4 separate regions of the Homo sapiens genome follow, and all the other regions are linked to region 2. The links are contacts of gene promoters, found by promoter capture Hi-C in human tissues and cell types (Jung and others, 2019). All regions are on one chromosome and are shown on one strand. Each heading gives the region's core, a stretch centred on a gene start or on the middle of the fragment in contact. The rest is flanking DNA. Distances are from core to core; before and after follow the strand shown. Region 1 has its middle 18 kb from the start of PRF1. Region 2 holds the start of ADAMTS14 (ADAM metallopeptidase with thrombospondin type 1 motif 14). Region 3 overlaps ADAMTS14 (ADAM metallopeptidase with thrombospondin type 1 motif 14). Region 4 has its middle 34 kb from the start of ADAMTS14.

Region 1 (3,046 bases), core at 157-2,656, 52 kb after region 2:
GGAGGCTGAGGCAGGAGAATGATGTGAACCTGGGAGGCGGAGCTTGCAGTGAGCGGAGATCGCACCACTGCACTCCAGCATGGGCAACAGAGTGAGACTCTGTCTCAAAAATAAATAAATAATAATAATCAGCTCAAAATCATTCTTATGCCAGAGGCATATTTTGGAGTGGCATATTCTGATCTGCTAAAACCATATTTTAGAGTAACATATTTTGTTTTTTTACAATATTAAATCTTTCTCCTTTTCTGAAATGTGCATTTATGACCATAAACTTCCCTCTAAACATAATATTAGTTGCATCCCATGTATTTTAGTGTATCATATTTTTATCATTCAGTTAAAAGTATTTTCTGACTTATTCTTTGATTTGGAACTTATTTTGAAGGATATTGGTGTTAGAAGAAAAGTTTTAGACAAATTAAATTTAACAGAGTTTAATTGAGCAAAGAACATTTCACAAATTGGGCAGTCCCTAGAACCAGAAGAGGTTCAAAGTGACTCTGGTGGTTGGAAAGGATTTATGGACAGAAAAGGGAAAGTGAAATACAGAAAACAGAAGTGAGACGCAGGAACAGCCAGATTAGTTGCTTGGCAGCCAATCCAAAAGGCAACTAAGCGTTTGCCTTATCTGAGCATGGTTTGAACCATTGGCTGCCTGTAAGTGGTTGAAATATGACTGCTGTGATTGGCTAAGACCTACTTGTTACAAGAGTAGGTTACAAGGCCTGGCATGGTCGCCCACACCTATAATCCTAGCACTTTGGGAGGCCAAGGCGGGTGGATCACCTGAGGTCAGGAGTTCAAGACCAGCCTGGACAACATGGTGAAACCCCATGTCTACTAAAAATACAAAAATTAGCTGGGCATGGTGGTGCGCACCTAATCCCAGCTACTTGCGAGGCCGAGGCACAAGAATCACTTGAACCTGGGAGGTGGAGGTTGCAGTGAGCCAAGATTGTGCCATTGCACTCCAGCCTAGGTGACACAGTGAGACTCTCTGTCAAAAAAATAAAATAAAATAAAAGAGTAGGTTATAGTCTGTTTACACATCCAGTTAGGTTACAGTTCATTACTTACTGAGAAACCTTTAGGCCAAACTTGAACTATGTAAGGAGGCAGCTTTAGGCTAAATGTAATTTAACCCTTGTATATTTTCAAACATTTTGATTTTTTGTTTGTTTGTTTTTTTGTTCTTGTTATTGATTTCTTGCTTAATCCACTGAGTAACATTCTCTGTAAATTTTTAATCCATTGAAATGTTTTGAGATATTTTATGGCCCAGTAAATTGCCAATTTAGGTAAATGTTCAGTACGCACTTGAAAAAAAGACATATTTCTTTTGTAAACCAAAAACAAAATCCTAAGCTACCCAACTGATTGAATGGACTCCCTCTGGGCCAAGGAAAACCTGAAAAAATGAATTCCAAATCATGATGGGAAGGGAAGTTGGAGAGGCCTCATTATGCCCCCTCCCTTTTGGAGTTTAGGCACAACTGGCCAGCATTAATATTAAAAGAGAGATCATAAGACCGACAAAACAGACTCTTTGTAGTAATAAAACACAAAATTCCAACCTAACTCTGGTATGGCATCACATGCTGTCTGCGGGCTGCCACCTATGAGACTTCATCTACGTAACAAGGGCCTTGGCTTCCACAACCCCCTTGTCTTAGCTCAAGGATTCCTTTCTACTGACTTCTTAAGCCTTTAGACAAAGCTTAACTCTTTCAACCAATTGCCAATCAGAAAATCTTTGAATCTACCTATATGACCTGGAAGCAGTCCCCTCCCCATAAGACATCCCACCTCTTTAGGCTGAACCAATGTACACCTTCCATGTATTGACTTATGTCTTTCCTTGCAACTCTTGTTCCCTAAAATGTATAAAACCAAACTGTAGCCCAACCACCTTGGGCACACTTTCTTAGGACCTCTTGAGAACGTATCCTGGGCCATGGTCACTCATATTGGCTCTGAATAAGCCTCTTTAAATATTTTACAAAGTTTAGCCTTTTCATCAACACTTTGGTGTATGGGTACAGTGTCCTATATATGTCAGTTGGGTCAAGCTTATCATTGCATTGTTCAATTTTTTTGTATCTTTACTGATTTTATTGTCCACCTGTTTTATCAGTTAAAAAGAGAGGTATGTTAACATATTTCACTACAGTATGTATTTATTCTGTTTCATTACTTCAGTTTTCTTCTTTAAGGTCTCTTTTATACATGGGTTGGATCTTCTCTATCTTCCATATCTATCACCTTTATATCTTTTTTTAAACCAGTCTCCACTTTTGATTTTTTTAATTTCCTCTGTTTCATCTTCTATTTCTCTTATGACATTATTTATGTTATTTATTCATTCTAGCTTCTTTTTATTTCTAAAATGGTTAGAGGTTTTTTTTAGAAAAGAAAAATGGTTTTTTCCTAACTAAATTCTGTGTGAGCTCTTTTCAAATTTTCCTTGTATCCAATTATCTCATCTCTTAATTTTTATAATCCTGACTTATGCTTTAGTTTCCTAAATTCTGTCATTTTAAAAACTCTTCTACTTCATTTAAAAATATCAAATGAAAAATTTTATGTATTTTGTAGGGCATGTCTTTCCAGAGATCATTGCCTGATGATCTGTTACTATGCTAATCAACTTTTTTCTTTAAAAACAAAACAAAACAAAACAAAACAAAAACTGAATGGGACTGGATTTCTCCTCTGCAATCCTTTTGCATTACGTATGTTTAAGTGAGATAGTTTTTCGGGCAGTCCTCAATGGGGAGAATGGGAAAAGATTTCTTGGCCTAGATTCGTGACTCTAGGGCTCCCTCTTCTGTTGTACTGAAAAATGTCTTTAAAATGGGTTGAAGATTCTGGGAATGACTTCCTCTGTCGCCTTCCTCCAGTTTTGTCTGGACCTTATCTGTACATGGCTCCCTGTCTTGCTCAGTTTAGAGTCTAGTCCCAGCCATTTTGCCTCTGTGTGAGACTTTGTCCTAGAAGGATATTTAGCTGGCAAGTTTCAAGATTTTATGAGGCGATTTCATGG
Region 2 (3,468 bases), core at 718-3,217:
GATAGGAACTCTCAGTGTCACCCTTAGGTGGGCCCCTTAGCCTGAGTTCACCCATTTTCCATCCATTGCTTCCTGAGCTCCAGGATTCCTACACTTGGATGAAGGGTGTTCGGGTACCTTGTGGCACTCCCTGTAGCCCCCAGGTCCTTTTTAAACTTAGCAGAAGAAAGCAAATGATACCAGACAGAGCCCGGTCACTAGCAACAAGACTTCCGACCTTGGGCTCTGCCCAGAAAAGGACTAAAATTCCCCAAAAGCCAACAGGGCAAATAAAGGGAAGGGCAGATCTGCCCAAACTCCCCAGTGTGCTGAAGTCACCAGCCCAGGCTGGGGTAGTGCCCTCCTCCCCAAACTTCCAAGAACGCAGCTGGCAAAACAAACACACCTAGAAACCCAGGGGACCATGGGCACGTGTCAAGGAGAAGGTGGGGCTGCAGAGGGGAGCGGTTCTCTATTTTTCCAAGGTTAGAAAGAAAACTTTTTACAGGAGGACAGTGGCCGCTGAGATCTCTGTATGGCCGAGCCCCAAGCTGGATAAATATAGATCTTCAAAAATAAAAGGATATACAGGGGGTGACCTGCCCACTTGGGCTGAATTAACTGTGAGGTCATGGCCCCATGCTCCAGGCCACATGCCAGCAGGCCCATCCTCACGCAGCTCTCCTTGAGCCCAGCCAGGCTGGGCAGGAATGACAGCTCCCTGGCTTCCAGGCCTGGTGATTCATGAATGCGAGTTTGGGAGGAATTTTCATTTCCACACAGCTCTACCTCTCGTCTCCCCAGTTCACGTCACTGATGAAACATAGAAAGTGGTGTTTCCTGAAAATCCCCCATGCCCACAGCTCTAGTTTCATCCCCATTATAGCAGAGGACCCCTAAGACTGCTGCAAGAGGGGACCCACTCTGGCACATGAACAAGGCTCACAAACAAGGAGGGACCCTGCCTGGAAATGACCGGTGACTCCTCCCCATGTTCAGAGCCACCAGGAGGGTACCCCATGCTGCAGGGCGGGAGTGGAGTGTATCTGGTCTGTATGCAAGAGACCTGTGTCCACAGCGTTTGACAGTGCTACGTTGGGGGCAGTGGAAGGATGTGTGTTTCTGTGCAGGAGCGTGAGTGCCCCGCATGCTCTGCTGTAGGAGGCAATCACCTGTTAGCCTTATGCTGGGTATGTAACAGCCACACACAGACACACACACACACACACCCCTTGCACCCATGCTCACACAAGTTGGAGACAGAAAAGACATTGAAAGAGAAAGACACACAGGACAGAGAAACAGATTGGGGAAGAGGGGAAAGAAGAAACACAGAGAGACAAAGAGACAGATGCGCTGCTCCCGAGAAGAGACTCGATGCTCCCAAATTCTCTCCTGGGGTCTCTGTCTACTTCTAGTACCAGAAAGGGAGAGAAATCACGGGACAGTGCCGTGGCACAGTGGAAGAAAAGACAGCAAATCAGCCCAGAGTGTGCATACTGCCTCCCACCCGCGGGAACCCTGCCCGGGTGGCTGGGGCAACCTTGGGCCACCCTGACCGCGTGCACCCCGGACCCCACGGGCCCCCGCGCGCCCAACCCGCACGCACCTGGGGTCCGGCTGCCCGCGGCGGCGCAGAGCGCACAGTGCAAAGGCAGCAGGTAGGACAGCAGCGCGCGGAGTGGAGCCATGTGGCCGCGCTGGGACGCGGGCTGGGCAAGCGCCCGATCCCCAAGTCCCAGGCTGAGGGCGGCGAGGCTAGGGTGCGCCCCGGGCTGTCGGAGCACCGGCTGGCTGCCGCCGCTGCCGCCTCAGCCGCCTCCCCGCCTAGCTGCTTCCCTCCCGCCTGCTCCGGGTCCCCTGCGCGGCGCCGCCGCCTGGACCGCTGGCTCCGGGCGCGCGAGGCTGCCGGCTGGAGAGCGGGGCCACTGACGCGCCAGCGCACCCGGTGCCAACTGCCGGCTGGTCGGTCAGCCCGCCCGCGCAGTGACGCTCCGGGACTCCGCGGGAGCCGGGCGACGGGGCGGCGGGACGGGCCGGGGGTGGGCACACTGGGCGGGGCGGGGCCGGGCGCGGGTCGGAGCTGGGGCGCCGGGCGCCCGGGGGCGGGGCGCGCGGCTGGGGAGTGCAGCTGCCTGCGGCCGGGGATCGGAAGTGCCACGCGGAGACAGAGCAGGGGTTCCTGGCGCACGGACCGATTGTCCCCTCAGACGCCTGGGATCCCCGGAGTGGTGGCCCAAAGCCGCTTTCTATGGCTGCTCCGCCCCCTTTCTTGGCCGCAGGGCCTGCTCTCTGTTTCTGTTCCAGAGCCAGGAGCCCAAGGGGTGTCCGGCTGCATTTGGGAGTGTGGTGGACAGTGAACCTCCCGGTAGAGGGAGACTCCCTCTTTCTTTCACTATGGTCTTGATGCCCTCACTAACCATCGACCCCTTGGATCTACCCATTTTCCAGACTCCAGCCCAGGGTGCACGACTGACCTGTGTCCTAGCCAAGAGCAGGGCTGAGCCGGTGAGGAGAGAGCCCTGGCTTCAGAGTCAGACAGCCCTGATTGAAATCCTAGCTCTGAGCCTCAGTTGTCTTATCTGTGAAATGGGTGTTAACTACAGCACATAATAGATGCTCAATAAGTGATAACTGCCCTCCACTTCCATCCCTGACACCAGTAGCAACTGTGGCATCCCAAGGTGGAAAGAACCAAGAGTCTGAGAGATGAGCACTTGATGCTAGTCTTGCAATGGTGTTGAGACCAGGTCAGGAGTCAGTACAAACAACCCAACAGAAGATCCATGCTCTTGCTTTACTCTGTAAATATGTAACTAATAACTTGCAAATAAACTATATTTCAAGCAATCCAGGGGTGGGAGTTGTGGAAAGGAGATTTTTTTGTAATAACCATGGAATAAAGAATCTTGGAAATGATGCCAAGGTTTTGGAGGACCAGTGCATTTAAGAAGCAGGTTCAGAAAGCTAAAGTATATTATATTCCAAGCATTCCAAGCTACATCAGAGCATCCAGTTATTTGGAAATGCCACAACCAAATTGATCTATATTAAATTCAGGAAGAATAGAGTTCCTCTTTCTCCTCTTTCTGGTCTTTTAAGATGTGTGTTGGCTGCGTGCAGTGGCTCACGCCTATAGTCCCAACACTTTGGGAGGCTGAGGCGGAAGGGTTGCTTTAGCCTGAGAGGCTGAAGCTGCAGTGAGCTGAGCTTCAGCTCACACCACTGTACCCAGCCTGGGTGACAGAGCAATACCCTGTCTCAAAAAAAAAAAAAAATGATGTGCAAAGTCAAGGTCCAGACAGGATTCTGTGTGTGAGGGATGACAGAGCAAGAAAGTTAGAGGGTGTGTGTGTGTGTGTGTGTGTGTGTGTGTGTGTGTGTGAGAGAGAGAGAGAGAGAGAGAGGAAAGAGAGAGAGAGATAGGAAAGAGAGAGAGAGAAAGAGAGAGAGAGAGAAAGAGAGAGAGAGAGAGAAGGCTGGGAGATG
Region 3 (3,399 bases), core at 886-3,385, 43 kb before region 2:
GGCTTCTGTCACCTGTTGCCACACACTTGGGTCTCCTTCCTCAACCCTACCCCCACAACCTTGCTGTGCTGTCTGCCGCCCTGGCCCACATGCCCTCCCCTCTCCAAATTGCCCTCTCCCCCAGGGCAGGCTCAGCAATGAGCCCCTGTAGACAGCCCTCCTCTCTCCACAACCCCACAGGGACAGCACCCCCTCTAAGCTCCTTGGTACTGGTACCATTCTCAGTGGTTCCCTGATTATTCCATAGGACTAAGGCTTGTTTTTGCAGCCAGACCAAAACTTCCACGATGGGAGTCTGTCTGTGATACAAGGCACACAACACGTACTCACTAAATGCTGAAAACAACTACCCCTTTATGCTTCAAAGTGCTCAAATGGTTCTCTAGTCCTGAGATTTGAAGAAGTCTTAAGGAAGATGACCCAGTATAGATGTGCAAACAGGCACAGAAAAAGACAGCGCCCAGCAGCGTGTGCGACAAGGCTGAGCGGGGAGCCCGGTCGCATCATCTGAAGCTGCAGGAATATCCATAGCACCTCCCCAGGTCAATGCAAAAGACATATAGGAGGCAGGGCCACCCAGACTGTCCCTCCAGCTGCCCCTGACAGCAGTGCCCAGGGCCTTGTCAGATAACTTTGGGTGCTTCACTAATGGCTTCTGCCCCCTCCTCCCTGGGTTGAGAGCACAATGGGACCATCCATCCCAGGAACCAGATCTCCTCCCTCTGGTCCCGCCAGCCCAGACCTGGCCCCGGAAATCAGGATCAGAAATGGTCACAGCAGACAGGTGTTCCAAGGGGAATGCAAAGGCAAGCTGTTATTACTGGCCCCATGGAAATCCCCTAAGGCAATTCGAGCGTCAAGCATCCCAGCCAAATAAAAGCTTCCACACAATGGACAGGATGAGCTGCTGGTCCCCAGGGAGGCAGACTGTCGGTCCCCATCTGCTCTCCTTCCCTTGCTGGGAAGTTTGACTGTCCGTCCTCTGCACCTGTTCGGGGGAAGCCAGAACCCCACACCGCCCATGTACCCGCGATGGCAGCAGCAGGTCTGCAAGGTCATGGCTCCTTTAAGCCGCAGTCCATCTCAATGCTGTGAGCCTCTCTCCCCAAGAGGAACTGGGCTTCCCTCAGGGGAAGCTCTGCCTCAGCTGTGCCCCTCACCCATCGCAGGCCCTTTCTGTTCCCACATTCACAGGGCAACCCAGCAGTGAGCAGAAGACCTAGCCTCTAGCGGCCTTCCAGAACCTCTGGGAAGATCATTACTCTCCTCTCTCCTCACCCACTTTCTGGCAGATTGTGGGGAGAAGGAAGGTAGGACCAAGACTATCCAAACAGCAGTCACCAAGGCAGGCCCTCGGGGCCCAGTCTTCAGTGGAAACTGACAATGTTCCCCGGCCACAGCTTTGAGTCATGCATGAGTCAGAGGTCAAGGGTCAAAAGTCAGAATGTGTTAATTTGGCCAAGAAGGTTAGAATGGGTTACTGAGCCTGCCTTCCTCCAACAGTAAAGTCCTAGGGACGTCAGGGGAACACCAGAGAAGGATAAGTGGGCAGCTGGCCTCCACATCATGAACATCAAGGGCTCAGAGAGAACTTCCCACCCACTCCTGCCACCATCCACGTGGTCTCTTATAACTCCAGATTGGAGGGCTTCCTACCCCCTTCTGAATGCATCACGTTTCAGGCCAGGCCAGCCCTGGAATGCCAAGTTTCAAAAGTACACTTTGCCCAATAGAAAGAAACATCTCACTTATAGCCCATCAAAAGACCTCTTCTGGTTTCCAAGGGAAGCTCCCAAATTCTGCTTGGGGAACAAGCTCCCATCTACTCTCCCCACTACCTTCCAAACTTCGCTGCCTTCAGCTCTCCACCTCAGCAGTGGGTTTCATTGTTTTTCCCATAGCCCCAAAGAGTATCCCCTCCACCCTCACCCCCATCATTTGAGCTGACCCTCTTAGAGCCCTTATCAGGGGCTCAGACCAGGCCACTCAGTGGGTCTGGAAGGGGCCTCGCTGAGGGCACACAGTGCCCAGAAACCATGCATGTGGAGCCCCTCACCAAGCAGAGACTGTAGGAGCTGGCACAGGTCATGGCCCCTCCAGGACATACATGCATACAAGCACTCCCTCTCCTGGGGTCCTGTTCCCAGCCTGTGTGAGGGCCCATTTGGAACCCCAGCATTAGGATACAGATCAGTGTAAGCTGAAGACATCTGAAAGCCAACAGATGCAGAAAGAAGCCTTCTCAGCTTTCCTTAAAAGCAGCAGCATCTGGGAAAAGAGGTTGTCAGAAATCCCCTTAAGGGAATTTCACGGTCATAAAGACAGAAATACCACTTGACCCTGCTTAAGTAAGCATTATCACAAACTTCATCTCCCGTTAGTTCTCCTAAAAACCCACTTGTCTTTCCTAAAGAAACCTTTCTCCCTTCCCCTTTCTCTCCCTATTAAGCTAAGAATATAAGCCCCCAGGTTTTGTTTCTTTTTTTTTTTTTTTTTTTTTTTTTTGAGACTGCAGTCTCCCTCTGTGGCCCAGGCTGGAGTGCAATGGCCCGATCTCGGCTCACTGCAACCTCCGCCTCCCAGGTTCAAGCAATTCTCCTGCCTCAGCCTCCCGAGCAGCTGGAACTACAGGCGCACCACCACACCCAGCTAATTTTTGTATTTTTAGTAAAGACGGGGTTTCGCCATATTGGTCAGGCTGGTCTCAAACTCCTGACCTTAGGTGATACACCTGCCTCAGCCTCCCAAAGTACTGGATTACATGCGTGAGCCACTGTACCTGGCCAAACCCCCAGTTTTCACCACCCCTTTGAGGTACTCATCATGGAGCACCCCTATATACAAGGAACTGGCAAATCAACTCTTTTCTCCTGCCAGTCCATCTCTTTCAGTTTAACTCACAAGCCCTCCAGTACTGAACATAAGAGGGTGGAGAAAAGTTTTTCTACCATAACAGCTGGGTCACCAGCCACGGACAGCACCAGCTGGCACCAGGCCTGGGGAAGAGGGTGAGCTCTGGAGTGGACACAGTGGTGCTCAGATCCCAGCCCCACGGCCTACCAGAGGGCAGACTAGCAAGTTACAGCCTGTCTCTGCACGCCAGTTTCTATGTAAGGACATTGAGGCTACTCAGACCTCTCACAGGGTTATGGGGAGACTTAAATAAATGAGGTCGAGTCTACAAAGAGTCTGGCTCCCAGTGGTTGCTCAAAAACAATACTAATAATTTCTACAATGATATTCTTTTTTTTTAATTCTAGAGACAGGGTCTTATTCTGTTGGCCAGGGTGGAGTGCAGCGGCACAATCATAGCTCACTGCAGCCTTGAACTCCTGGGCTCCAGCGATCCTCCCACCTCAACCTCCTGAGTAGCTGGGACTACAGGTGTGCACCACCTTG
Region 4 (3,431 bases), core at 170-2,669, 34 kb after region 2:
CAGACACTTCTCAAAATAAGACATTTATGCAGCCAACAGACATGTAAAAATGCTCATCATCACTGGTCATCAGAAAAATGCAAATCAAAACCACAATGAGATACCATCTCACGCCAGTTAGAAAGGCAATCATTAAAAAGTCAGGAAATAGTAGATGCTGGAGAGGATGTGGAGAAATAGGAACGCTTTTACACAGTTGGTGGGAGTGTAAATTAGTTCAACCATTGTGGAAGACAGTGTGGTGATTCCTCAAGGATCTAGAACTAGAAATACCATTTGACCCAGCAATCCCATTACTGGGCATATACCCAAAGGATTATAAATCATTCTACAATAATGATACACACACACGTATGTTTATTGTGGCACTATTCACAATAGCAAAGACTTGGAACCAACCCAAATGTCCATCAACGATAGACTGGATTAAGAGAAGGTGGCACATATACACCATGGAATACTATGCAACCATAAAAAAGGATGAATTCATGTCCTTCGCAGGGACATGGATGAAGCTAGAAACCATCATTCTAAGCAAACTATCACAAGGACAGAAAACCAAACACTGCATGTTCTCACTCATAGGTGGGAGTTGAACAATGAGAACACATGGACACAGGGCGGGAACATCACATACCGGGGCCTGCCAGGGGGTGAGGGGCTGGGGGAGGGATAGCATTAGGAGAAATACTTAATGTAAATGACAAGTTGATGGGTGCAGCAAACCAACGTGGCACATGTATACCTATGTAACAAAACTGCACGTTGTGCACATGTACCCTAGAACTTAAAGTATAATAAAAAAGAAATAATAATTTAAAAAAAAAACTTAAAAGCGTCTAAAATATCAGAACGCCACTTTATAGTGAGAAGCAGAGTCTCCAAAAAGTAGAATCTCAGCATGCACTGGTCTGATCTGCCCCACTTCTCCCCCAGTGCACATACTCCGCCCCTGCCGACTCCTCTACCCAGTGCTCAGGCACCAGCAGCTGTCTGCATCTCCCCAGTGATGGGAAGCTCACTACCTCCCAAGGGTACTTATTTTATAATGGGACAATTATTTTCACTTTTTCCTTTTTTCTTTTTTTTTTTTTTAAGACAGGGTCTTTGTCGCCCAGGCTGGAGTGCAGTGGTGTGATCTCCACCTCTCAGGTAGAGGCAATCCTCCCACCTCAGCCTCCTGACTAGCTGGGACTACAGGAGCACGCCACCATGCCCAGCTAATTTTTGTATTTTTTTTTTTTTTTTTTTTTTTTTTTTTGGTAGAGACAAGGTTTCATCATGTTGGCCAGGTTGGTCTCAAACTCCTGACCTCAAGTGGTCCACCCGCCTCGGCCTCCCAAAGTGCTGGGATTAGAGGCATGAGCCACCATGCCCAGCCTATTTAAAAAAAAAAAAAATGGTTGCCGGGAGCGGCAGCTCATGCCTGTAATCCCAGCACTTTGGGAGGCCAAGGCGGGCAGATCACCTGAGGTCGGGAGTTCAAGACCAGCCTGACCAACATGGAGAAACCCCATCTCTACTAAAAATACAAAATTAGTCATGGTGGTGGTGCATGCCTGTAATCCCAGCTACTCGGGAGGCTGAGGCAGGAGAATAGCTTGAACCCGGGAGGCGGAGGTTGCTGTGAGCCGAGATCGCGCCATTGCACTCCAGCCTGGGCAACAAGAGCGAAACTCCATCTCAGAAAAAAAGGTTGTGGTTAATTTGTGCCTGATAACTTTTAAATGTAAAGGTATAATGAGAGTTCATGGCAAGAATGATGCAACTGACAAATTTCCTTTATATATGTGGCATGAAAAACAAGATAATAGGCCAGGAGCGGTGGCTCACGCCTGTAATCCCAGCACTTTGGGAGGCTGAGGCAGAGGATCACCTGAGGGGTTCGAGGCCAGCCTGACCAACGTGGCGAAACTCTGTCTCTACTGAAAATACAAAAATTAGCTAGGCATGGTGGTACTTTCCTGTAATCCCAGCTACTCGGGAGGCTGAGGCAGGAGAATCGCTTGAACCCAGGAGGCAGAGGTTGCAGTGAGCCGAGATCGTGCCACATTGCACTCCAGCCTGGGCTACAAGAGCGAGACTCTGTCTTAAAAAAAAAAAAAAAAAAAAAAAGGAAAGGAAGGAAGGAAGGAAGGAAGGATCATAAGCTGTCCAGAAAGCCCCTCCATGTACTACCCTCTCCATCCCTAACACTGCTTGACAAAATGACCAGTCTTCTGACTTCTGTCGCCACAGATTCATTTTCCCCATTTTAAATTTCATTTACATGGAATCATACAGTTTGTATTCTATTGTGTCTGGTTTTGTTCACTCAACTTTTTTTTTTTTTTTTTTAGACGGAGTCTCACACTGTCGCCCGGTCTGGAGTGCAATGGTGTGATCTCGACTCACTGCAACCTCCACCTCCTGGGTTCAAGCCATTCTCCTGCCTCAGCCTCCCAAGTAGCTGGGATTACAGGAGCCCGCCACTGCACCCAGCTAATTTTTTGTATTTTTGGTAGAGACAGGGTTTCACTATGTTGGCCAGGCTGGTCTCAAATTCAACATTTTTATGTGAGATTCATCCATACTTGTCTCTTGTATCAGTCATTCATCATTTTTTTGCTGCTGTATAAAATTCCATTGCATGAATATTCTATCATTTATTCACCCATCCTATTGTTTATGGGCATTTGGGTTGTTTCCATTTGGGCTATTTATGCACAGCACTGCCATGACCAGTCTTGTACATATCCTTTGTTGGACATAAGCAATTATTTCTATGGGGGCAGGAGTGGGACTGCTTGCTCTTAGGTGTATGTATGTTTACCTTTTAAAAAATTACTAAATAGTTATTTAAACAGTTTGATGTTTTTTGCCTCCTTTTTCTTTTTCTGTTTGTTTGATTTGTTTGTTTGTTTGTTTTTAGATAGGGTCTCACTCTGTCGCCCAGACTGGAGTGCAGTGGTGTGACCACAACTCACTGCACCCTCAACCTCCTAGGGCTCAGGTGATTCTCCTACCTCAGCCTCGCTAGTAGCTGGGACTACAGGCATGCGCCACCACGCCTGGCTAATTTTTGTGTTTTTTGTAGAGATAGGACTCCCTATGTTGCCTAGGCTGGTCTTGAGCTCCTGGGCTCAAGTGATCCACCCGCCTCTGCCTCCCAAAATGCTGGGATTACAGGCGTGAGCTGCCACGCCCGGCCGCTTTTTGCCTTTTTCTTATGGATTTGCTGTTTTTCACATTTAGTTCTACATCCAGCTGGAATTTATTTCATATGGGGTACAGTGAGATTCAAGATACATCTTTTTCCTCTCTGGGTATCCAAATTTCATCTACCATTTATTGAAAAGAACATTCTTTCATTGCATTTCAGTGACTTGCATGTCACCATTCTGGTGACCATATGTGGGTATTTGTTTCTGGACCTTATTCAGCCCCATTGG

The links. The method cuts DNA at HindIII sites, captures the fragments that hold promoters and counts their contacts. A contact is called where the count stands out against the background at its distance.
Region 1: a contact is called between a fragment that was not itself captured here and the fragment with the promoter of ADAMTS14 in region 2, in 8 of the 25 tissues and cell types used here (H1 embryonic stem cells, IMR-90 fibroblasts, heart left ventricle and 5 more).
Region 3: a contact is called between a fragment that was not itself captured here and the fragment with the promoter of ADAMTS14 in region 2, in 1 of the 25 tissues and cell types used here (spleen).
Region 4: a contact is called between a fragment that was not itself captured here and the fragment with the promoter of ADAMTS14 in region 2, in 1 of the 25 tissues and cell types used here (spleen).

The regions. Positions count from the first base shown.
Region 1 is chr10:70,619,257-70,622,302 of GRCh38, reverse strand. No RefSeq gene overlaps it. Among named protein-coding and RNA genes, the nearest start is that of PRF1, 18 kb to the right of the region's middle. The HindIII fragment of the contact is 5,049 bases long and covers 1-3,046 here.
Region 2 is chr10:70,671,005-70,674,472 of GRCh38, reverse strand. It overlaps ADAMTS14 (ADAM metallopeptidase with thrombospondin type 1 motif 14), which reads right to left and starts at 1,967. Exons shown (of 22, transcript NM_080722.4): 1 at 1,589-1,967. The coding sequence starts at 1,670. RefSeq lists a silencer at 3,086-3,380. The HindIII fragment of the contact is 21,684 bases long and covers 1-3,468 here.
Region 3 is chr10:70,714,053-70,717,451 of GRCh38, reverse strand. The region is part of intron 4 of ADAMTS14 (ADAM metallopeptidase with thrombospondin type 1 motif 14); the gene reads right to left. Among named protein-coding and RNA genes, the nearest start is that of ADAMTS14, 43 kb to the right of the region's middle. The HindIII fragment of the contact is 3,690 bases long and covers 291-3,399 here.
Region 4 is chr10:70,636,862-70,640,292 of GRCh38, reverse strand. No RefSeq gene overlaps it. Among named protein-coding and RNA genes, the nearest start is that of ADAMTS14, 34 kb to the left of the region's middle. RefSeq lists a silencer at 3,035-3,220. The HindIII fragment of the contact is 7,837 bases long and covers 1-3,431 here.